2 separate regions of the Homo sapiens genome follow, and region 1 is linked to region 2. Evidence: promoter capture Hi-C in 16 types of primary human blood cells and fetal thymus (Javierre and others, 2016). All regions are on one chromosome and are shown on one strand. The core of a region is centred on a gene start or on the middle of the fragment in contact, and the rest is flanking DNA. Distances in the headings are between cores, read along the strand shown.

The links. The method cuts DNA at HindIII sites, captures the fragments that hold promoters and counts their contacts. A CHiCAGO score of 5 or more calls a contact.
Region 1: the fragment with the promoter of UBL4B here is called in contact with the fragment with the promoter of GNAI3 in region 2 in 1 of 17 cell types (M0 macrophages); the score reaches 5.9 in M0 macrophages.

Annotation. Positions count from the first base shown.
Region 1 is chr1:110,110,186-110,115,825 of GRCh38, forward strand. UBL4B (ubiquitin like 4B) reads left to right here and starts at 2,258. Exons shown (of 1, transcript NM_203412.2): 1 at 2,258-3,762. The coding sequence starts at 2,350. The coding sequence ends at 2,874. The HindIII fragment of the contact is 8,258 bases long and covers 1-5,640 here.
Region 2 is chr1:109,547,182-109,552,938 of GRCh38, forward strand. GNAI3 (G protein subunit alpha i3) reads left to right here and starts at 1,434. Exons shown (of 9, transcript NM_006496.4): 1 at 1,434-1,657. The coding sequence starts at 1,540. GPR61 (G protein-coupled receptor 61) reads left to right here. Exons shown (of 2, transcript NM_001393907.1): 2 at 1-79. RefSeq lists enhancers at 961-1,020, 1,551-1,720. The HindIII fragment of the contact is 6,158 bases long and covers 1-5,073 here.

The sequences.
Region 1 (5,640 bases), core at 1,008-3,507, 560 kb after region 2:
TATGGACTAGAATATGAGTCACCCGGCAAGAGTGAACATGGGGCTGGGGTGAGGGGTGAGGGCTTGCTGAGTCTGTGGCATCTATGGATATTTCTTTTCTTCTTCTTCTTTTTTTTTTTTTCTGAGACAGAGTCTCGTTCTGTCACCCAGGCTGGAGTGCAGTGGAGTGATCTCGGCTCACTGCAACATCTGCCTCCCGGTTTCAAGCGATTCTCCTTCCTCAGCCTCCCGAGTAGCTGGGATATTAGGTGCGCGCCACCACGCCCGGCTAATTTTTGTATTTTTAGTAGAGACGGGGTTTTACCATGTTGGTCAGGCTGATCTTGAACTCCTGACCTCACGATCTGCCCGCCTCAGCCTCCCAAAGTGCTAGGATTACAGGCATGAGCCACCGCGCCCGGCCCCATGGGTATCTTCACCAGCTGCTCTTGGCTGCCAGCTTCCAAAGACAGGGACAGAGCTTGCAGCCACCTTTGGGCGGAGTTCAGGGCTGGGTGCTGTGGAAGGGCAGTTCAGGAAAGTCCAAGGATGTTGACAACAGCATCATGCCACTGTAGCTTCCAGGCAGGTGGAAAAGGAAAGGAGGTTAGGTGGGAGGGAGGGAGAAGGTGAGTGAGAAGAAGGGCACAGTCGAGCACAGAGCTGGTGAGAGTTGAGGGGATCCCTGACAAAATCAGCCCACTGGCTGCGAGACGTTATTCAGGTCTTCTCCAAAGTTGCTCAGTTCTAAAATGAGACAATACTTTCCTCCCAGGCTAAATTGTGACAACATATATAAAGGGCTTGACCCAGAAGGCCTTCAGCAATGTGTTGCACTGAAAACTGCCAAATGCTGCAGAAGTTGCAGACACAGAGGAGGCCCAATCAGTGTCCTTTTTCATATTCACCTTTGAGCCGGGGGTGCCTGCTCAGGGCCTGGGCCACAAAAGGCACTGAGCAGAGATTTGTTTAGGAGGCAACATGAGGTAACAGTGAAGACAAGAGCAATTCTGCCTGCTTGCTGTAGGATCAGCCAAGCCTCCACTTTCTCCTCTGGCAGATGGAGATCATGGCAGTGCCTGCCTCATAGGTTGAGAGGATTCAATTAGGCAGGCCTGTGATGCAGATGCTGTGGGCTGTCCTGCCCCATCCCCTCAGCACTCACATTCCTGAGGGCCCGATGGCTTCCTACTTTTCTGTGGTCACAGGAGCATGCTGCTTAACACCTGTGGACCAGAAGTGCCAAGGAGGTAGCACTTCTATTAGCCAAAGACAGGAGTCAGAGCATAAAGATGCAGGTTCGGCCAGGTGCGGTGGCTCACGCCTGTAACCTCAGCACTTTGGGAGGCCAAAGCAGGCAGATTGCTTGTGTCTGGGAGTTTGAGATCAGCCTGGGCAGCATGGAGAAACCCATCTCTACTAAAAATACAAAAATTAGCCAGGCATGGTGGCGTGCAGCTGTAGCCCCAGTTACTTGGGAGGCTGACACAGGAGAATTACTTGAACCCAGGAAACGGAGGTTGCAGTGAGCCGAGATCATGCCACTGCACTCCAGCCTGGGCAACAGAGTGAGACCCTGTCTCAAAAAACAAAAAAAAAAACAAAAAAACCACACCTGGTGCAACTCAGGTGTGTTCCATGCAACCTCCCAGAACTCCCCAGCAGGATAACATACTAGTTGCCCACAATGGCAACCTGCTCATGAATGCACGTTTTGATTTCCCTCCCGTCCTCATCTCACATCCTCACTCCCCTCCTGGTGCCTCCTGGGATCACCTCCTAATTGAGTACTTGTTCTCAAATCCCTGTCTCAGTGTCTGCTGCTGGAAAGCCCAATCCAAAAGAGCGTGTAAAGTGCTTGACAGAAAGAGGACGCTTGATAAATGCTAGCCAGCTCACTAGTGTGAAAGTGTCATGAAGGCAGAAGTCATCCATCTGAATATGACTGTCTCCCCAGGTCCAGGTGCTGGCACAGAGGTGGCACCTAATACACATGTGTTGAAGAAATCAATAGACATGCTCCTCCCACCACCCTGTCCTTTCCCTCCCTCCCTTTCCCTAGTCTCACTCTCATTTCCCCCAGTCCCACATTTTCTTTCCTAGTGCTCTTTTTCTCCTCTCGTGGAGGAAGGATGCTCTGGGCCCAAATACCCCTTTGCTGTCCCAAAAGTTCCACTCTGGAAATGAGCCCCCCCGCAGCATTGTGACATCACCGTGCACTAGCCAATGGCTGCCTGCCTAAGCTGGGTCCCTGGTCTCCTGGGACTACTAGCCCTTTGTTGATAGGGAGAAGCCAACATCTCCCGCAGGACCCCCTAATCTTCAGGGCAGCTCCCAGAGCATGGATCCCTCCTGATTCCACTCAGCCCGATGTTCCTCACAGTCAAGCTGCTCCTGGGCCAGAGATGCAGTCTGAAGGTGTCAGGGCAAGAGAGTGTAGCCACGCTGAAGAGACTGGTGTCCAGGCGGCTGAAGGTGCCTGAGGAGCAGCAGCACCTGCTTTTCCGTGGCCAGCTCCTGGAGGATGACAAGCACCTCTCTGACTACTGCATTGGGCCCAATGCCTCTATCAATGTCATCATGCAGCCCTTGGAGAAGATGGCGCTAAAGGAGGCCCACCAGCCGCAGACCCAGCCCCTGTGGCACCAGCTGGGACTGGTCCTAGCTAAACACTTTGAACCACAGGATGCCAAGGCCGTGCTGCAGCTGCTAAGGCAGGAGCACGAGGAGCGCCTGCAGAAGATAAGCCTGGAGCACCTGGAGCAGCTGGCCCAGTACCTCCTGGCAGAGGAGCCTCACGTGGAGCCAGCTGGAGAGAGGGAGCTTGAGGCGAAGGCACGGCCTCAGAGCTCCTGTGACATGGAGGAGAAGGAGGAGGCAGCAGCTGATCAGTAAACGGGCCATCCTACCCATTTGCATGCTAAAATTCTCCCGGCCTCATCCTTACGTGTTCCCTGGTGACTTTTCCTACTACTTCCTGCTGATGTGGATGCGTCCACACCCCTTTTTGAACCTTCCAAGCAGCTGGAGGGTTTTTGGATCCCTGTCCCCTCTTGGGCCTGAGGTCCTCCCTCTGAAATGCAGAGTGAACCAACCCTCATCACCATGCTTCCCCTAGAAGGGTTCTGATCACCGGAGGGCAGCCCCAAAGGCCACAGTCCCCTCCTGTGCTGGCAGCTTTGCCCACACATACCCAGCAGCTCCCCAGGCTGAAAGCAGCCCTGGCCCAGGGTCTCCATGGTTCTAGGCAGACCCTCTTTCTCCTTCGGGACAGAAAGACAATGTGAGTTCATTTTCCTCCATCCTCAGACCGTGACATCTCCCCTAGGCTCCCCAGCAGCCAAGAGGAGAGGAATGTCAGGTAGCTGCCCCTTGCCTTCTGGGTGAGGCTGCCCCTGCTGTTCTCCTGCTTGTGCTTCCAGCTTAAGGGACAGGCACAGCAGAGGTGAGAGTGGGAGGAGGGCACGTACCGGGTGCCAGCCCTGGAGCCCTCAGGGAGACAGACACAGACCAAGAATAGCAGGAAACTGAGCCTCAGGCAGAAAAAAAGTTCAGCAAAGTCATACACTCCCTGTGGCCAGCGTGAACAGAGCCATGCCCCACCCTCCCAGACTGATCAGTCAGTAGGTATCACAGCTCACATTACCTGCCCAGCGCTGCCCAAGGCTCCCTGGAAGGAAAAATGGTATCTGTCAATGAGGATCCTTGCCCTCACAGAGCACGCAGCCTAGATGCAGAGAGCTGCTATACATGTGAAAAGTAAAGTGGTGACATGAAACTAGAGTCTAGTGTGTGTGACTGAATGCACGGGGCCTCACGGGGCCCTGGGTTCAGCATAGAGGGGCCAGTCCCCTGCAGACTACGAGGAAAGCCAGGCCCTTTACTCTGTTCTTTGAGTGAGAGAGTGGCCCTTGCAGAGGCTGAGGAGTCCCCACACTCTGTGTGTGAGTGGGAGGGAGTGGGGAGCTGTGGTCCCCCATTCACTGCTGAAGCCCCTGAAATGCTGTTATTGCAAAAGTTTCAGTCCTGAGTGATGGGGATGGAGGGAAGGGGTGGAGGAGAATGTCTTGAACAAGCAGGGCCCCCTTCCCTAGGAAGCATCCTGTCCTTGGCCTGCAGGGCCCCTCATCCTCTCTTCCAGTCCGAGTCCAGCTGTGTGGCCATGGGTAACCTGCTTTTCCTGTCTGATGCTCAGGTTTCCCACCTGTTGCATGGGCATCCTTATAACAGCATCTACTTACCCCATGAGTGTTGGTGACGGTTAGAGGCAAAGACTGTCCAACTGGGAGGGATGTCTTCTAGTGGTGGGCTCAGCGGCAGTGACAAGGATGGATGTGGAAAGCATTCTGTTTGTGGGAGCCTGCTTAGCAGTGGTCATTCCCTCACCTCGCAGAATAAGACAACCTCGTTCAGCTTATGACCCAGCTCCTTTCCCAGTGCCCCACCCACTGTCCCAGCCAAGAGAGCAAACTAGGGGCTCTGAGGAGACTAATGACCTCTCCCTGGGGTACCAAGGACCCAGCACGCACTGGCTGCAGCCAGCACTCCCAGGCTGGGGTTTAGGGGGCTCAAGCCTGCTCCTTGGTTCCTGTCCTGGTCCTGCTCCTGGGCCCTGCATCCTCAGCAGGGGAGCCCTCTTGACAGTTCTGTGAGTGTTTTCATGCTGGGGCTGTACCATTTGCCAAGGGAGATGAGCCTATTATCTTTACATTAGGGGAACTAATAGCCCATTTCCCAGGAAATCCGTGAGCGATAAAAATAAGTGGGCCGTTTTATTCCTTTTACTGAGAGAAGCTGGCATGAAGGACAGGGGAAGCCTTTGTTTTCTCTCTAGTTAGTGGGAGTATCAGGGCTGGCTGAGAGCAGGCCAGGGGAGGCAGCCACCTCCACTGTCTGTCCCCAGCACTGCAGGGGAGGATGTCTCCAATCCCAAACGGGGAAGAAGGAAAGTTGGTCTGCTCTTCCATGCACCTCCCACTACCGACTTCCCCCATCCCAAGGGCCCTCCTGCCCCTGTTCCTCCCTTCAAAAGCAGGAGAGAATGCACTGTCACTTGGAACTTAGCAGGAACTTGCACCTATTTGTCACCACTCCCAGGAATGGTCTTACTCAGTGCTGTGTTTCTCAATGTGGGGTGACAGGCATTGTCCCCTAAAGGATGTTGTTATAGTCATCAGAGAACAGAAGTTAGGAGTGTATTTGAGGGGCTGGGGCAGGATCAACCCCTAATACTCCAGCGATGGGTTTGGATCTCATCTGTGTTGAGAACACTAGCTCTTGGGCTGCCTGCCATGGGACCCCTCACTTTGCCTAGTTTTGCCCTATTTCAAACTGAAGCCTGTACCAGTGCACCTGTTGAAGGCTCCCTATTTCCTCTCTGCTTCGCTAGGGAGAAGGCACTTTTTCTAAACTTCAGCCTTGGGCAGAAACTCTTTCCCCTAACTCCCCACGGCATCTCTCCCCTACCTACCTACAGGTAACAATTTTGCTCATGTTGGGGGCATTTCAGGACAGCCACCACATCCAGTAGCCAGCTTCGTGTTTCTATCCACAGAGAAATCTAGCTTCTCATCCCAGCTTCTTCCTGGGTCACCTGCAGGCCAACACCCCTCAGTCCACTGGTCCATGGCAAAATAGTCTTTCTGATAGAAATAGGCAGAG
Region 2 (5,757 bases), core at 184-2,683:
TGAGGATTAAGAGATGGGATGTGGGAGCACCTAGCCGTATCTGGCAAATAGGTACTCAATAAATACTGGTTTTACTTCCCTTTCCTCTTGCCCTTTTTCCCCAAAAGTATTGATAATGGAAAAGCAGTCCCTTTCATTCTTAACAGTCATTTGGGAATGACTGGGGGACTTTTCAAACCTTGAAGAATTGGCATTGCTAAGAGTTAAGGTGGACGAGGCTTTTTAAGGTGGCTCTAATCCTCTAATTAAATCCTTCTAATTAATGAATCATCACTATATAAACCTCTCTGTTGGGACCTTACTTTCTCAAGTTCAGATTCTATTAGAGAAATAAATTTACAATCACAGGGAAAGGTTTTAGGGACTGAGTTCCCTTCGCTAGAACGTATAGTAATTGTGGGCTTATTTGCCTGAAAAGTTGATTTAGGACTACCTTCACGCAGTATCCAGGGTTATTAGTGAAAGATGCTATCTGCCTGGGACTTTCACAGTGGACTTAAGTTTCAGGTGATACTAGGGCTGAGAGGCAAATTTTACTAGAACCTCTCCTTTTGCATGTTATCGCAACAGGAAATTTTAGTAGGAGATTCACAGGATGCACTGGTTTGTTTCGGGGTGTGGAATTGAAGTTGACTTATCTTGGTTTTAGTTCTAAGACCCTAAGGTAGGAAGATCTGAATTATACTGGAGAGAAGGGCAGCATGGAAATTTTATGGAGGAACTACAGGCTTACCTTTCAGGTTATCGAGTATCTGCTAGCGATTTCAAGTGGCCTTTTGCCAATATAGGAGTTAAGCAAATCTCAAGCCCACAGAAATACGTGAATAGCAAAAGGACCAGGGGACATTTTGAGAGGAGTCAGTGGGCCAGAGACGGCAAAAAGTTATTGCTGAGGTCCTAAGCACAGTCGGTGTTACGATCTCAGATGTGAGACGTGAACGGCGCCCAGGCCGGATAGCTTGTTCCCATTCCATTGATCTGAGATAACCCCAACGGAGGCAGTGTCCCATACTTGGGTAGGGGTCCCGAGTCTCCACAGCCAGAGATCAAAGGAGTTTTCTGGCAGGCGAGAAATTACCAGCAGATATTCCCGCGCGGGATGTAGGCTTTAATTTAGAAATCTCCGCCCCAAAACTGGCATCTTGAACGCGGGAGGGCATTATGAGTTAGAGGCCCCGGTTTTTCTCCATTTATCCAAATCAGGTAGCCGAAAGGTAAATGAGGCTTCAAGTTGGGCGGCGGGCAGCGAACTTGACAGAACCTCGAAACTCTGCAGATCCGCCGCCCAACCCAGCCGCCAGCTCCCCGTGACTTCCGCTTTCGGTCTCAACTCCTCTCCCTGAGGAGAGTGGTTTAAACGGTGAAGGCTGCGGGGCGTCGCCGGAAGTGTCGTAAACGTCGGATATCCGGTTCTTCTGGGCGCTAAGGGAGCTGACGGAGAGGGCCACCGCCCAGCAATAGACGGTGCCTCAGCCTGCCGAGCCGCAGTTTCCGTGGTGTGAGTGAGTCCGGGCCCGTGTCCCCTCTCCCGCCGCCGCCATGGGCTGCACGTTGAGCGCCGAAGACAAGGCGGCAGTGGAGCGAAGCAAGATGATCGACCGCAACTTACGGGAGGACGGGGAAAAAGCGGCCAAAGAAGTGAAGCTGCTGCTACTCGGTGAGGGGCTGGAGGCGGGGACTGAGTGGTGGTCGGGAGAGCCTAGGCGCTTGGAAGGCCTGAACGGGGTCTGGTCGGGCCGACGGAAAGGACCCTAAAGGGATCTGGAGGGCGTGCCGGGCGTGGGGCGGGGTGTTGGGGTTCCTAGCTGAGGCCCCAGAGGGCGTGATGAGGGGGGTGGGGTTTTGGGGTTGCGGGAATTAGGCTGTAGAGGGTGTGACTCCGGGCTAGAATTGCGTTTAGCAGAGAGACTTGGGAGTATGGGCCGGTAGATGTTGAGGGAGTAGGAATATGGGAAAAGCTCATAAAGGAAGAGTTGATACTAGGAAGGTTTTACGTTGGGTTGGAGCGTGTTGGTAACGAGAACGGCATAGAGTATATGTTGGGCTTGTATAATGGTTTGTGAGTTTGGAGCGTCGTGGTTCTTTGGCAGGATAAAGCTAGCAGGCTTGAATGGATGGTACAGAGACTGGAACAGAATGGTCACATAAGGACGTTGACATTTGTTAGTAAGAGAGCCATTTGAACTGTTGGAAGAACCCTGGATTATCCAGGAACATGAAGATAGGTAGGTGAGATAAATGACAAGTTATCAGGTATAAAGGAAAAGAGCTTGGGTGCAGAGGCCATCTCTACTTTTCCACCGTTTCCTATCATTTTTATTTTCAAAGTTTTATAACGTCTTCTTCTGTTTTTACAAAAGGATGGGAAATGGTGTGAGCTGAAGAAATTTAAAGAATGATTTCTTTGAGGTTTGTAGCAGAAGATCTAGTGAACAAGAGATTACACATTGGAGGATGCTGAATAGTTGCTATAGATGATGTGTAGTTGGAATAGTTACCTTAGGATAAGTTACAGAGTTGGACATATTCACTGTAAAGACTATGGTAGACTTCTGGTGGCTGTTTTATCCTTTTTGGCCTCTTCAAAGCAAAACCATTGACTTCAGGAATTACTGTTTATGTTATTTGATAGTCGTTTTAATTGGCTTTTTTTAAACACAGTCGGATGTATTTTACTCAACATGAGTTTCAAAATTTTTGAGAGGCTCAGTAAATCATACAAAGAATACTGGCATTAGCTTACTAATAAATCAAGCCACATTTCTTCATTATTAGTGAAGATTTTCTAGGGTAGTATTTCCATTATTTTCCAATATTTTCTAGGGTAGTATTTCCATTAGAGAAGAATAAGTAGGAGTAGGGGTTTCTACAGAAACCCTTACAAGCAATAGAAATTTACTTTTTAAAACAATTGATTTTTGAGGAAAAGGAGTCACTTTAGGGGAAATGCTAAATTTTCATGGTATAAAGCTCCAGAGAACAGAATGTACACTGTAACCCAAGACTTATTTTGTACATTCTAAGTGCCCCTGTTAGTCTCTTCGTGTGAACATATTTGGTTGGTTGTAGATTGCAGAAGCTCTGGTAATAGCTTTTTTGAATATACTATAAAGGGAAAGTTATGTATTGGAGCTTAAGGTTCCGGTTTGTATACCTGAACTTTCAGAAGATGCGAGTTCAAATTGTAGTTCTAGACTGCGACTGTCTGTATAACAGGTGGATATGCATGGTCCCTGGTACCTAGTAGGTGCTCCTTAAATATTTACTGTTAACCAGCCTGAGCCAGCAAATGTTGAACACTGGTCCTTGGGGCCTTTGAGAAATTTGATATAAACTATAACATTCAGGGCGTTAACTTTTTTTTTTTTTTGAGACGGAGTCTCCCTCTGTTGCCTAGGCTGGAGTGCAGTGGCGCGATCTCGTCTCACTGCAACCTCCACCTCTCGGGTTCACGCCATTCTCCTGCCTCAGCCTCCCAAGTAGCTGGGACTACAGGCGCCCGCCACCACGCCTGGCTAATTTTTTGTATTTTTAGTAGAGACGGGGTTTCACCGTGTTAGCCAGGATGGTCTCAATCTCCTGACCTTGTGATCCACCCGCCTTGGCCTCCCAAAGTGCTGGGATTATAGGCGTGAGGCCACCGTGCCTGGCCAGCATTTTCTTTATTGATCGATTGGTTATGAAAGTAAAGATGTATTCTCATCTTCTGTGAGTGATTTGATTTACACTGACCAACAGAGATACCCTTAGGACATCAGTTTATTGTAATGTAGTTGGAAACTTTGAGACTTTCTTCCAAAATGCAGGATTAGGCAGGCAGAATTTGGATAGGCGGAACTTGTCCAGATGTCTAGAAGAATTTTTGTTCAGGATTTTATCTGTAGTGCATTTAATTAAAAACAAAATTAGACACTTGACTTAGGGAACTTGAAAAGCAGTAAGTAAAAATCAAAGTACTAAACATATTTGCTTTTAATTTTTACCAACTTCATTCTTTTTTAAGTAAGATTTTTAAAATATTCTTGAGCAAGTTAAATCCACAAATTCAAATAGGTTGCAGAAACATATGTTCTTGCTTGAGCCATATCATAACACACATAGGAAATTAAAATTATCTTCTATGCTATTTCTATAAGCAAAATGTACCCAAAACAGTATACAGTTTTCTTTTTCCTGGATAATGTCTCCTTTGCTGTAGATGCAAGTCATTTTTACTTTATCACTATGGAACTTAGTTTAAGTTGAGATCTATCTACTTACCCTGTGTCTCCTGACACATGATATATTTTCTTTCTTATGGGGGTGTAGTTTAACATGGTGATTAATAGCATGGGTCCTGAAGTCAGACTGCTTTAAATCCTAATTCCCATTTACTAGTTATAGCCTTGGGAAAGTTAATTTCTCTTGGCCTCAGTTTTCTTATCTTTAAAATGGAGAAAATAGAGCTACTCCTAGGATTGCTGTGAGGATTAAATATGGTAATAATGTAAAGCAGAACACAGCTTGGCACATAGTACTAGCTCCATGAAGATTAGCTATTCTTATTAAGTCAAAATGAATGTTACAGATTGTAGGTATTATGGAAATTATACCAAATTAAGCAGCTAGTGTGGGCCAGATTATTTACAGACACTTCAGTATTGTAATTCTTCCTTTGATAACCTTTGGTTTGAATTTCATTTAGATGTTCTTGGAAAGGGCTGGGCGTGGTGGCTCCTGGCTGTAATCCCATCACTTTGGGAGGCCGAGGCTGGTGGATCACCTGAGGTCAGGAGTTCGAGACCAGCCTGGCCAACATGGCGAAACCCCATCTCTACTAAAAGTACAAAAATTAGCCGGGCGTGGTGGTGTGCACCTGTAGTCCCAGCTACTTGGGAGGCTGAGGCAGGAGAATCGCTTGAACCCGGGAGGTGGAGGTTGCAGTGAGCAGAGATGACGCCACTGCACTCTAGCCTGGGTGACAAAGTGAGACTCTTTGTCTCAAAAAAAAAAAAAATAAAGTGTTCTTGGGAAGATCTTGGTATATCAAATTAGTGTTTAATTATGACATTCTATTGAAAAAATACCATGCAAAGCTTCCCAACCAATGTTCCAGTGCTTAGGATGGCATATAGGTGTGCTGTTTACAAATTTTTTATAGCATTGAAATTTTAAATCATTTTTATAAGTTCAAACTTTTACAACAGTTGAAATTACATTTGAACATCTTTGGTATGATTTCCTCTTGTATAATTCATGAATTTGGTAATTTGGTTATTTACTATTTAAACAATTAGAGATGGGGGTCTCATTATGTTGCCCAGGCTGGTCTCAAATGCTTGGCCTCATGTGATTCTCCCATCTCAGCCTCCCAAAGTGCTGGGATTACCAGTGTGAGCCACTGTGCCTACCCTACCATGAATTTGGTAATTTGAAAAAATTTTATTTGGTATAAATACTAAATTTATACCAATTTAATATTTAATATCATTTGTAATACTTTGTATTTTTTTCATGCCATAATTTCATAATAAGAAATTTTGTGTGTGCGGGTTTTGTTTTTGTTTTTTTTTGACCCCAGGGCAAGCAAGAAAATTTTTTTTCACCAAGCTCTTTCAGCTCACCCCAATGAGCCTTACAAATATTTTTAATGTGTGCCATCATGTGACAAAGGTTGGGAAGCACTGGTATAATGGATAAGAGCACTGCTTTTGGATTCACACAAAACTGAATTTAAGTTCTACCTCCACTTATTAGCTCTGAGACCCAGAGCAAGTA